3 separate regions of the Homo sapiens genome follow, and all the other regions are linked to region 3. The links are contacts of gene promoters, found by promoter capture Hi-C in blood cells and fetal thymus (Javierre and others, 2016). All regions are on one chromosome and are shown on one strand. The core of a region is centred on a gene start or on the middle of the fragment in contact, and the rest is flanking DNA. Distances in the headings are between cores, read along the strand shown. Region 1 overlaps CPM (carboxypeptidase M). Region 2 has its middle 85 kb from the start of CAND1. Region 3 holds the start of MDM1 (Mdm1 nuclear protein).

What was found. The method cuts DNA at HindIII sites, captures the fragments that hold promoters and counts their contacts. A CHiCAGO score of 5 or more calls a contact.
Region 1: a contact is called between a fragment that was not itself captured here and the fragment with the promoter of MDM1 in region 3, in 1 of 17 cell types (megakaryocytes). The highest score is 5.4, in megakaryocytes.
Region 2: a fragment that was not itself captured here is called in contact with the fragment with the promoter of MDM1 in region 3 in 3 of 17 cell types (total CD4 T cells, naive B cells and total B cells); the score reaches 5.5 in total CD4 T cells.

The regions. Positions count from the first base shown.
Region 1 is chr12:68,850,322-68,853,123 of GRCh38, forward strand. CPM (carboxypeptidase M) reads right to left here. Exons shown (of 9, transcript NM_198320.5): 9 at 854-2,802. It also overlaps a transcript of MDM2 not described here. Among named protein-coding and RNA genes, the nearest start is that of MDM2, 44 kb to the left of the region's middle. The HindIII fragment of the contact is 1,089 bases long and covers 760-1,848 here.
Region 2 is chr12:67,353,004-67,355,953 of GRCh38, forward strand. No RefSeq gene overlaps it. Among named protein-coding and RNA genes, the nearest start is that of CAND1, 85 kb to the left of the region's middle. The HindIII fragment of the contact is 569 bases long and covers 1,043-1,611 here.
Region 3 is chr12:68,331,094-68,334,015 of GRCh38, forward strand. It overlaps MDM1 (Mdm1 nuclear protein), which reads right to left and starts at 1,269. Exons shown (of 15, transcript NM_001354969.2): 1 at 1,135-1,269; 2 at 14-128. The coding sequence starts at 1,152. LOC105369819 (a long non-coding RNA gene) reads left to right here and starts at 1,538. Exons shown (of 3, transcript XR_945057.3): 1 at 1,538-2,922. RefSeq lists an enhancer at 820-909 and a silencer at 1,210-1,469. The HindIII fragment of the contact is 10,890 bases long and covers 1-2,922 here.

The DNA of each region.
Region 1 (2,802 bases), core at 54-2,553, 520 kb after region 3:
AGTCTAGGTAAATATACCAGGGAACTTCTGCTTAAGAGGCTTCTATGTAATGAAATTCTCTTGAAAACAGAGAAACTATTTCCTGTTTATTTTCTAAATTGAGACGTCACTTTTTAAAAATTGGTACCTGTAATTTAGCCATTTCCTACTCAGCAATGTCTCATTTAAACTATTATTTGTTTAGCGTGTTTCAAAGAGCAGATGTAAGCTTGAGCCCATCCTCTGTCCTATGACTAAGTCGATATTAGCAGGGGTTAGGACTGTTAGTTTTCCAGTTCCTACTGGAGGCAAATTCTTTGTTTACCACTGTTCTCTGTATTTCAAAAGCACCTGGAAATCAATAAAATTTGTTATTCAGAACAAAAGCCTTCTCTATATATCAGTATTTCCCAAAATGTGTTTGGAAATATAGGTATGTTAATCCAAAGGGATGGTACGAGGCTGTATTATTTAAGGAAATGGTCCCATAGCTTAGCATGTTTGGGAAATCCATTTCTTTTCTGCATTTCTCAGATTCTTTATTACATTAATATAAATTGTGAATTTTCAAATATTTTTTCTGACCAGAAGGCATACTTTCCATCCATCATCTTGTCCATGGAACACACTGCCCCACAACACAAATTAATTTGGAATGTATTATATATAATATATATAACATATAGCATATGTAACTTGTTCTGGAAGAACTATCTGGACTTTGAAGAGTTGTTGCAATGTTATTGCCTCATAAAAGGTCATTAAGTTTGGTCTTTCCCAAGCTTTATTTGGTGGTAATCAGTTATTTTTAGTGGACTTTGTTATACTTGCATAAGTACTTATTTTCAGGTAACATAATGGGAAAAAAGCATTATTTATATGGATATTAGTTCTTTATTGAGAATCAGAAATATTTTAAATTTACTAAATTCAGAGGTAGTCATGGCCTCTCCCCAATAAACTTTACAGTCTTAGACAATTTGTGCATTTTAATAAATTCTTAGTTATAGTATTAAAGAAAGTGGCTGGGCGCGGGGGCTCACGCCTGTAATCCCAGCACTTTGGGAGGTCCAGGCAGAGGCAGGCAGATCATGAGGTCAGGAGATCGAGACCATCCTGGCTAACACGGTGAAACCCCGTCTCTACTACAAATACAAAAAATTAGCCGGGCGTGGAGACAGGCACCGGTAGTCCCAGGTACTCGGGAGGCTGAGACAGGAGAATTGCTTGAACCCGGGAGGCAGAGGTTGCAGTGAGCCGAGATCACGGCACTGCACTCCAACCTGGGTGTTAGGGCGAGACTCCGTCTCAAAAAAAAAAAAAAGAAATAAAAAAAGTTACCAGGAAAACTGGTAAGATCAGCTATAAAACATCTATAAAAGGCAATGGAGTAGTTCATATGCAAAAGTATGATAAAATGGTGAGCAATACTGTACAGTATCTGCTTATTAGTTGATATAATGTAAAGTCTATAACAAACCCAAACTTCTACTTTAGCTACAGTACTGTGGACTTTCAATGCTCTTTAACTAGTCTGGTCATCATAATTTTCTCCCCCTTCCCCCTTCTAAAGTCATGAGGAAAATATAAAGGATCTATCATAAAATATACATCAACTGTATTGTTACCATATAGAATAACAACCAGACTTCTCAATAAGCAACTTATCTATTGCAGTAAGACAATATGCTATGCTTATCTTTCTGGATTCCCCAGGAAGAGATACTTCCAATCTAACATCAGATATTTTTACTTTCTAAACAGAGCTAACTTGTACCATTTTTAGAAACAGATCACAAATGCAAATTTGCTTCTGGAACAAAACATAACATTGATTTCTTGGAAAGACTTTTGGAAATGTTGAGAAAAAGCTTTTAACATTTCAGATACATCCAACAGTTCATGTCTGAATGTAATTAAGCATCCAAATCAACACTGTCATTTATCTGCAGGGACTTAATGTTTTTCTAAAATACTCTTTGCCATTTAGATTCAATCATGTCAACATTTACCAACATTTGAGTAGGTATACTCTTTAAGAAGGTATATTATACTGCCTTCAAAATACTTATTACCTGAGTGTTAACTATCATCTTTCCTCCACCTGAACAAGCACCAAAAATGTAGCATCTCTTACCAGTCACAGAATCACCGTTCAGCGTGGCGGGGGGTGGTCTCCATTTTACAGATAAAGAAACTGAATGTGTGGCGGATTTGAATCCAGGGCTTCTGCCTTTTTTCTTTCTTTCTTTTTTCTTTTTTTTTTTTTGAGACAGAGGTTCGCTCTGTCACCCCGGCTGGAGTGCAGTGCAGTGATGTGATCTTGGCTCACTGCAACCTCTGCCTTCTGGGTTCAGGCGATTTCTCCTGCCTCAGCCTCCCAAGTAGCTGGGATTACAGGTGCCTGCCACCACGCCCGGCTAATTTTTGTATTTTTTTTTAGTAGAGATGGGGTTTCACCGTGTTGGCCAGGCTGGTCTCGAGCTCCTGACCTCAAGTGATCCGCCTGCCTCAGCCTCCCAAAGTGCTGGGATTACAGGCATGAGCCACCGTGCCTGACTGCTGCTTTCTAAATACCATTTCACTCCCACATTTTTCTCCCATCATGAAAGTGTGTATCAGGTTGGTTTCTCTATAAAAGGAATTATAGCTGAACTAGAGCTGGAGGAGCATAACCACCAGCCCAAGAGGGAGGGGAAAAGCCGGAAAGGCGTTGGGCAGGGAGGTGGCTTGGGTACCTGGTTTGACCACAGTTAGAATATCATGATTGTGTTTTGTTAGTCTTTAAATGATTTTGAGTCTGATAGATAACTAAATTCTGAT
Region 2 (2,950 bases), core at 77-2,576, 980 kb before region 3:
CAGTGTGAGAACAGACTAATAGACTTCAATTAAAGATTTATTCTTGATAGGTCCAAAACTTTGGCTGATGGGGAAATGGGGCTGTCTAGAACGCCAGATACATGTTACAAGGGGAGGGAGGAAAGTAAGTGAGAGCATGTCTTATTCTTCTTCTGAACTGGTGAGGCAGTCATCTTAGCTGTCCATAGTGCTATGGACCACTGGAAAACAGCCCCTTTCTTAATGTCTTGGCCATCAGGAATGGTCATCCATCTGGCAAACATTTGCAGTTTGCCTACCACGTGTTAGATACAGCCTGGGGTGCTGGGGTTGCAGAGTCAAACTCTTAATCTTTTTTCAGAATGAACCTATGGCAGGTGAGAGGGGAAAACAAACCATTTTACCAGCATATGATGGGCACTGTGATGGAGTTATAAATAGGGTCTTGTAGGAGCATAAAAGCAAGGGGCTGCAGACTGCTTGGATGAGACAAGCGAAGGCAGCTCCTGAGCTGAAGTTTGAAAACAAGTAGGCATTACTCAGACTGTCAAAAGGCAGGCATTGGGCAAAAAAGCAAGAGCATATATGTAGTGTAGTGACTGAGGGTGCCTAGTGTATTTAGGGAAACCTTCAAGTAGCTCTGTATGCTGGAAGTTGAGTTTGTGTTGCAAGTGTGGAAGGTGAGAAATTTGCCTAAAATCAACTGATCAGAGGCTGGTGAACACTACAGGGAAAGGATTGGTGACAATTTAGATACATTTCTGAAACTTTTGAATTTCATAAAAGATGACCTCTCAGTGGCATTTTTTTTTTTTCAAGATGGAGTCTAGCTCTGTGGAGTGCAGTGGCGCGATCTTGGCTCACTGCAACCTCCACCTCCCAGGTTCAAGAGATTCTCCTGCCTCAGCTTCCCAAGTAGCTGGAATTACAGGCACCTGCCACCATGCCCAGCTAATTTTTGTATCTTTAGAAGAGGCGGCATTTCACTGTCTTGGCCAGGCTGGTCTCAAACTTCTGACCTTGTGATCCACCCACCTCGGCCTCCCAAAGTGCTGGGATTACAAGCTTGAGCCACTGTGCCCGGCTGACAATCAATTTTATACCGACAACTCTGTTTACTTTTGTATAATCTTACTGATAGGTTAGAACATGGCTATCTCATTGTGATGACAGATTGCAGGAGACAGTTGCTCAAATGATAGTATCGGTCTATCTTGGTCAAGTGTCTTAGCTATATGAATTTATCATTTAACACTAACAATACAAATGTTCAGCTGGTAAATAGCTCAAAGATCGACAGGAAGGTGTCTAAAACTACAGGAGTGTCCAAGCAAGCAAGGTTTCACAGTGAGGGAGGAAGTGGAATGAAAAGGGGGAGATGGCAGACTTGAAAAGAGCCCAAGAGTTTGGTTGTGGGCCAGTGAAGCATTTCAGTTTTCCGGATAGTTATGAAAACTGAAACTATGACTCCAAATGTGGGTTCAAAGGGAGGGTGGGATGCTGAAATATTGTTTTTGCTTTGTGTAGGCAGAGTTCCTGTCTCAAGAAGAGGTTTGGCAGTAACAAAGTTTAGCTATTCTGCTGGCCATCACTCCGGAAAGTGTTCCCACGAAGTGGCTGACTTAAAAAGTAAGCTTGACTAAGTATCATATCACATGAGCAGCACTGGAAAGAGGCAGAGCTGAGGGAAAGAGGGAAGCTTCTGTGTAGACGTCGACTTTACTCTTTGACCACCATACCTTGCCTTTCAGTTTGTGGGTAGCTTAGGAAACCGAAGTCAGACAACATAATTGGCTTTTGGGGGATAAGAATTGTGTCTTTCGGATGTTTCTCATAGTGCTTTACAGGATATACCCTCAAAAGAAGCTGAAAAAATTTTAAAAAGAAAGTCTGACACATTTCAATGCTGTGTTCAAGCCTTCTGTTTTCCAAAAGAGGCCATCAGGTATCACAGCAAATCACTTTTGTGGATTATAAAAGGAAGGTGACTTGCAGCTCTAAAATCTTAAATTCTCTGCTCCATGTTCTGTGTTTTATAAATAAGCATAATTGGTATTCAGAAAAGAAATCTGCAATCTCAGCCTACTTCAGGATGTTGGTGAGTTGACTAAGCTGTAAAACTCCTTAAAAGTCAGGATGTTTGGGCAGAGGAGGGCAAAATGTCTAGACAGAACAGAAGGTTTAAACTGCCCCTGGTGAAATTTAGTGGGAATTGACTTTAGCAGCTCTTCCTCCTGGGTGAATAGCTTGTGATTTGCGACTGTGAAGTGGTTGGACTGAAATGCTTTCTACTCTGAAGTTGTATGACTTTTTTTTTTCACATAGTGAATAGAGATATTGATGGAAAAGACATAACTATCAAGATAAAAGTGTGTTTTAAAATAATACTTTTAAGTATTCGACTGTATTCCTTTGTCCTTATGCAAACTAAACCTTGAGAAACAAAGACTGGTAAGATCTTGTGGAGAGAAAGTCAAATATTCCAATTCATTTGGCTTTGTTTGTGCCATATGTGTAAATAACTCCAACAAGATAGTCTGAGAAATAAGAGTTCATCTGGGAACATTCTTAGTCTTGTTATTAATGTTTTAAAATCCTTAGAACTCTTTTGCCAAATTCTGAGACTTAAAATGCAAAGATAAGGATGATTATTTTCAGAGCCAAGTGTGGAAATTATTCTTCTAGTATCTCTCTGTGTTCATGCGGTGCTATTGACTCTGGCAAAATGGGATCTCATATCTCTTTACTAATGAGAACTCAAATCTTCCCTGGGGACTGGCAACTTTAAAGGCTCATTACTCATATGTTTGATGTTATCTTTTGCTGGCAAATAACTGACGCTAGAGTCTTGAACATTTGCCTTTTAGGTTTGCTGTTTGCCCAACATTATGCTAATTCATCTGAAATGGAACTGTCAGCGGCTGCAGAATGTCTTTACCTTTCTTGAGAATTGAAGAAATTTATCTTCACT
Region 3 (2,922 bases), core at 19-2,518:
CTGCTCAACTTACCTAATTGATCTGATCTAAGTCCAGCCCATGGGTACTTTCGCCCCACGGAGGAATTACAAGACTCGGACAAATAAGACTTTTTCCACAGGAAGTTCCTCTGGTATTCACTCAGCCCCTGTAATGCAAAGTACACTTTTGAGTACAGTCCAATTAATGAATGATGTTTTAAAGCAGACATCGGTGAAAAATAATTTCTGAACCTCCCAAAAGAGACTTAAGACTGAAAATTAAACACAGACGAGCTCCTTAATAAGAGCTAATATTCACCCAGCCCTGTGCTAAGCAGTTCACACGTGTTATATCCTTTAATCCACAACACCACTTGAGGCAGATGCTACCAGGAATTCCAGGCTCAGAGGTTACCCTTTCACTGATTATCTGATTCCAAAGCATGAGTTCTTGTCGGATAACTAATGACAATCTAAATTCTCATCATTCTAGATTTATCGCAGGTTTTCACCGAGTACACAATATTATGTACCATGCCTAGGACCTTTTGCTATTTGATAAAGTCAACAAAAGGCAAACTCCCCTTCCATTCTGAATACACGCCTTTAAGATAAATGAGTCAGGAGATGTGGGACGCTGTGGCCACCTGTGAAGTTGCAGGGTGCTAGTCCCTGACAGCTACCAGCTACCTGGAACTTTTAACATACGCTAAGAATGCACAACGATGAAAAACGTGTATTTCTTTATACGCTGTCTTTACTAAGAACCCATTTCTCAAGCCTTTAAAAGCCACATACACTAAAGTTTTAAAGGTAATGGGGGTTAAATGCTAAGCTAAATGGGCCACAGGTGTCCCAATCTGAAGTCGCCTTTAGTTCTCTTCGCAAAGGGACCTCCTCCCATCTCCACTCCTCTTGAGTCCCCCTAAGTAAATGTGTCTCGCACCATCTGACTCTTCGACACACTGCAGCTTGCAAATGTGAGTGAGCGGAGAGGGAACTAGGTTAAGAGGCGGCGGGCAGATTCTGGGGCCCCTCGAGCAGGCCCTGGGGCTGGCAGCTTCCGCCGGGCAGAGGGCTGCAGCGCAGAAAAGCAGCGTGACCTCGGCGCTCCACACCTCCCCGGCCATGGCTCCCCCCAGCCACATTCCGGCCCGGGGACCCCAGCCTCACCTTGAAGCGCACCGGCATGTCGCCCGGCGCCGGAGCCCCCGCTACTCCGACAGTTAACTGGAGAAAAAGCTCCGAGGGGGCGGGGCGATAACAGTGTTCCCTAGCAAAGCCTCGGCCCGGCGTCCCCGACTACGCGCCGGCGCACTCCGCGCTTCCCGCCTAGAGGCCTGTCGGTCTGTTTTTCCCCGCCCTTTTTGGAGCCTAGGGACCAATAGAGACTCGCAGAGTGCCTTACCTCCATTAGGATTTGACCAATGAGTGGCCGAAAGGGAGCCGCCTACCTCCCTTGCCAAATCCCTGGGGCTGATAGAGATGGCGGGCGGAAGGCCGGCCAATAAGGCTCCCGGAACCGGGCTGGGCGGGACCCCGGGGGTGCCTTCCTGGGTTGGGTGGACCGGTCCCTGGTTCGCCGGGTCCTGCGCAGCAATGCGTCTGCTTGCTGGTGGAATTCGCCAGCCGCCAGCCTCGCTGGCCCAGGTGCTTGACAGCATCAAAGGTCAAAGTGTGTTCTTCATGCTAACATCTATGAGAAAACCGAACGCTTCTTTTTCTGAAAGTGCTCAGATTTATTCTGCTGAATATCGGTTCGTACAAACGACAGCCGCATTACAGTTTATTGTCACATCAAAAGGGAAAGGCCAAAAAAATATATAACTTAGGCAAGATTTTTGAAACTTTATTGAAACTCGAAAGACAAACTGCTGTCTCTTCCTCCAGTGATGTTCTTCCTCCTTCAATCTCTACCTTCCCCAAAATGATGTACATACAGCCCTTAGATGAGAAAACGTTTATTGAAGATGGTTGTCTCAACTTCCAAACCTTCAGCCTTGTCTCTCCGCTCAACCTTTTTTTAAAAATAAAACTTCATCTGATTTTAATCGACTATTGCCATCATCGTCGATAAATGTTTCTTGACAGAATACTGCTGATTCTGAGAATTGGGAAAGAAAGAAATTGTCCAGATAGTTCTCTGATATACTTGGGAAGGACATACATCTTTATTTATTTATTTATTCATTATTTATTCAATAATGGTGTAATGTGACATGTGCTAAATTTCTAAATGAAAGGTGTCAATAATAAGGGCTACAGGATCTGGGAGCAGGGAGTCATTTCGGACGGCAGAAGATGCGTCAGGAGGAAATATTCAGACTGAAAGGACTGCAATAAGTAAAAAGTGGGACGATGAAAGGGCAGATGTCTGAATGGAATGCTGCCAGGCTTCTTCCAGGAACAACAAATGAGTGCCTTTTACATTTGTCATGTGTTGACTGAATAAAAGTATACCACTCTTAAACTTTCAAATATCAACACCAATCCTTGATGCTTCCCTTTAAGCATTTTCCGCAAAAGCTGTCTTCCTGAATCCTGATTGATGTCTTTGTTCTTCATCATCATCGAGATACTTAAAAATCATTTGAAGAAGCCACCTGATATCTGGAACAAAGAGCATATTAAATTAGTCCCAATGCAGCCATGCATCCAGGGGGCCCTTGATTAATGTTAATTGGTGATGACAGCATCTCTGTCGTGTAAATTAAGAATGGCACAAACAAGACACAGTGGAACATAGAACAAAAGTCATCTGCAGGAAGGCAGCCCATCTTACAGAGTAAGAAAGGCACAACTTTGGTTGTGCACACAGCTTTGTTACCACAAAATGCTAAGGTGAGATCAGCAAAAGCAAGTGTGTAGAATGTAGCCTGCCTGCTAAACAAGCGCAATGATCACTGCAGAAGAGCTCTGCTGAGCAGGGAGTAAATGACAGGAAAACCAAACAGCAGATTG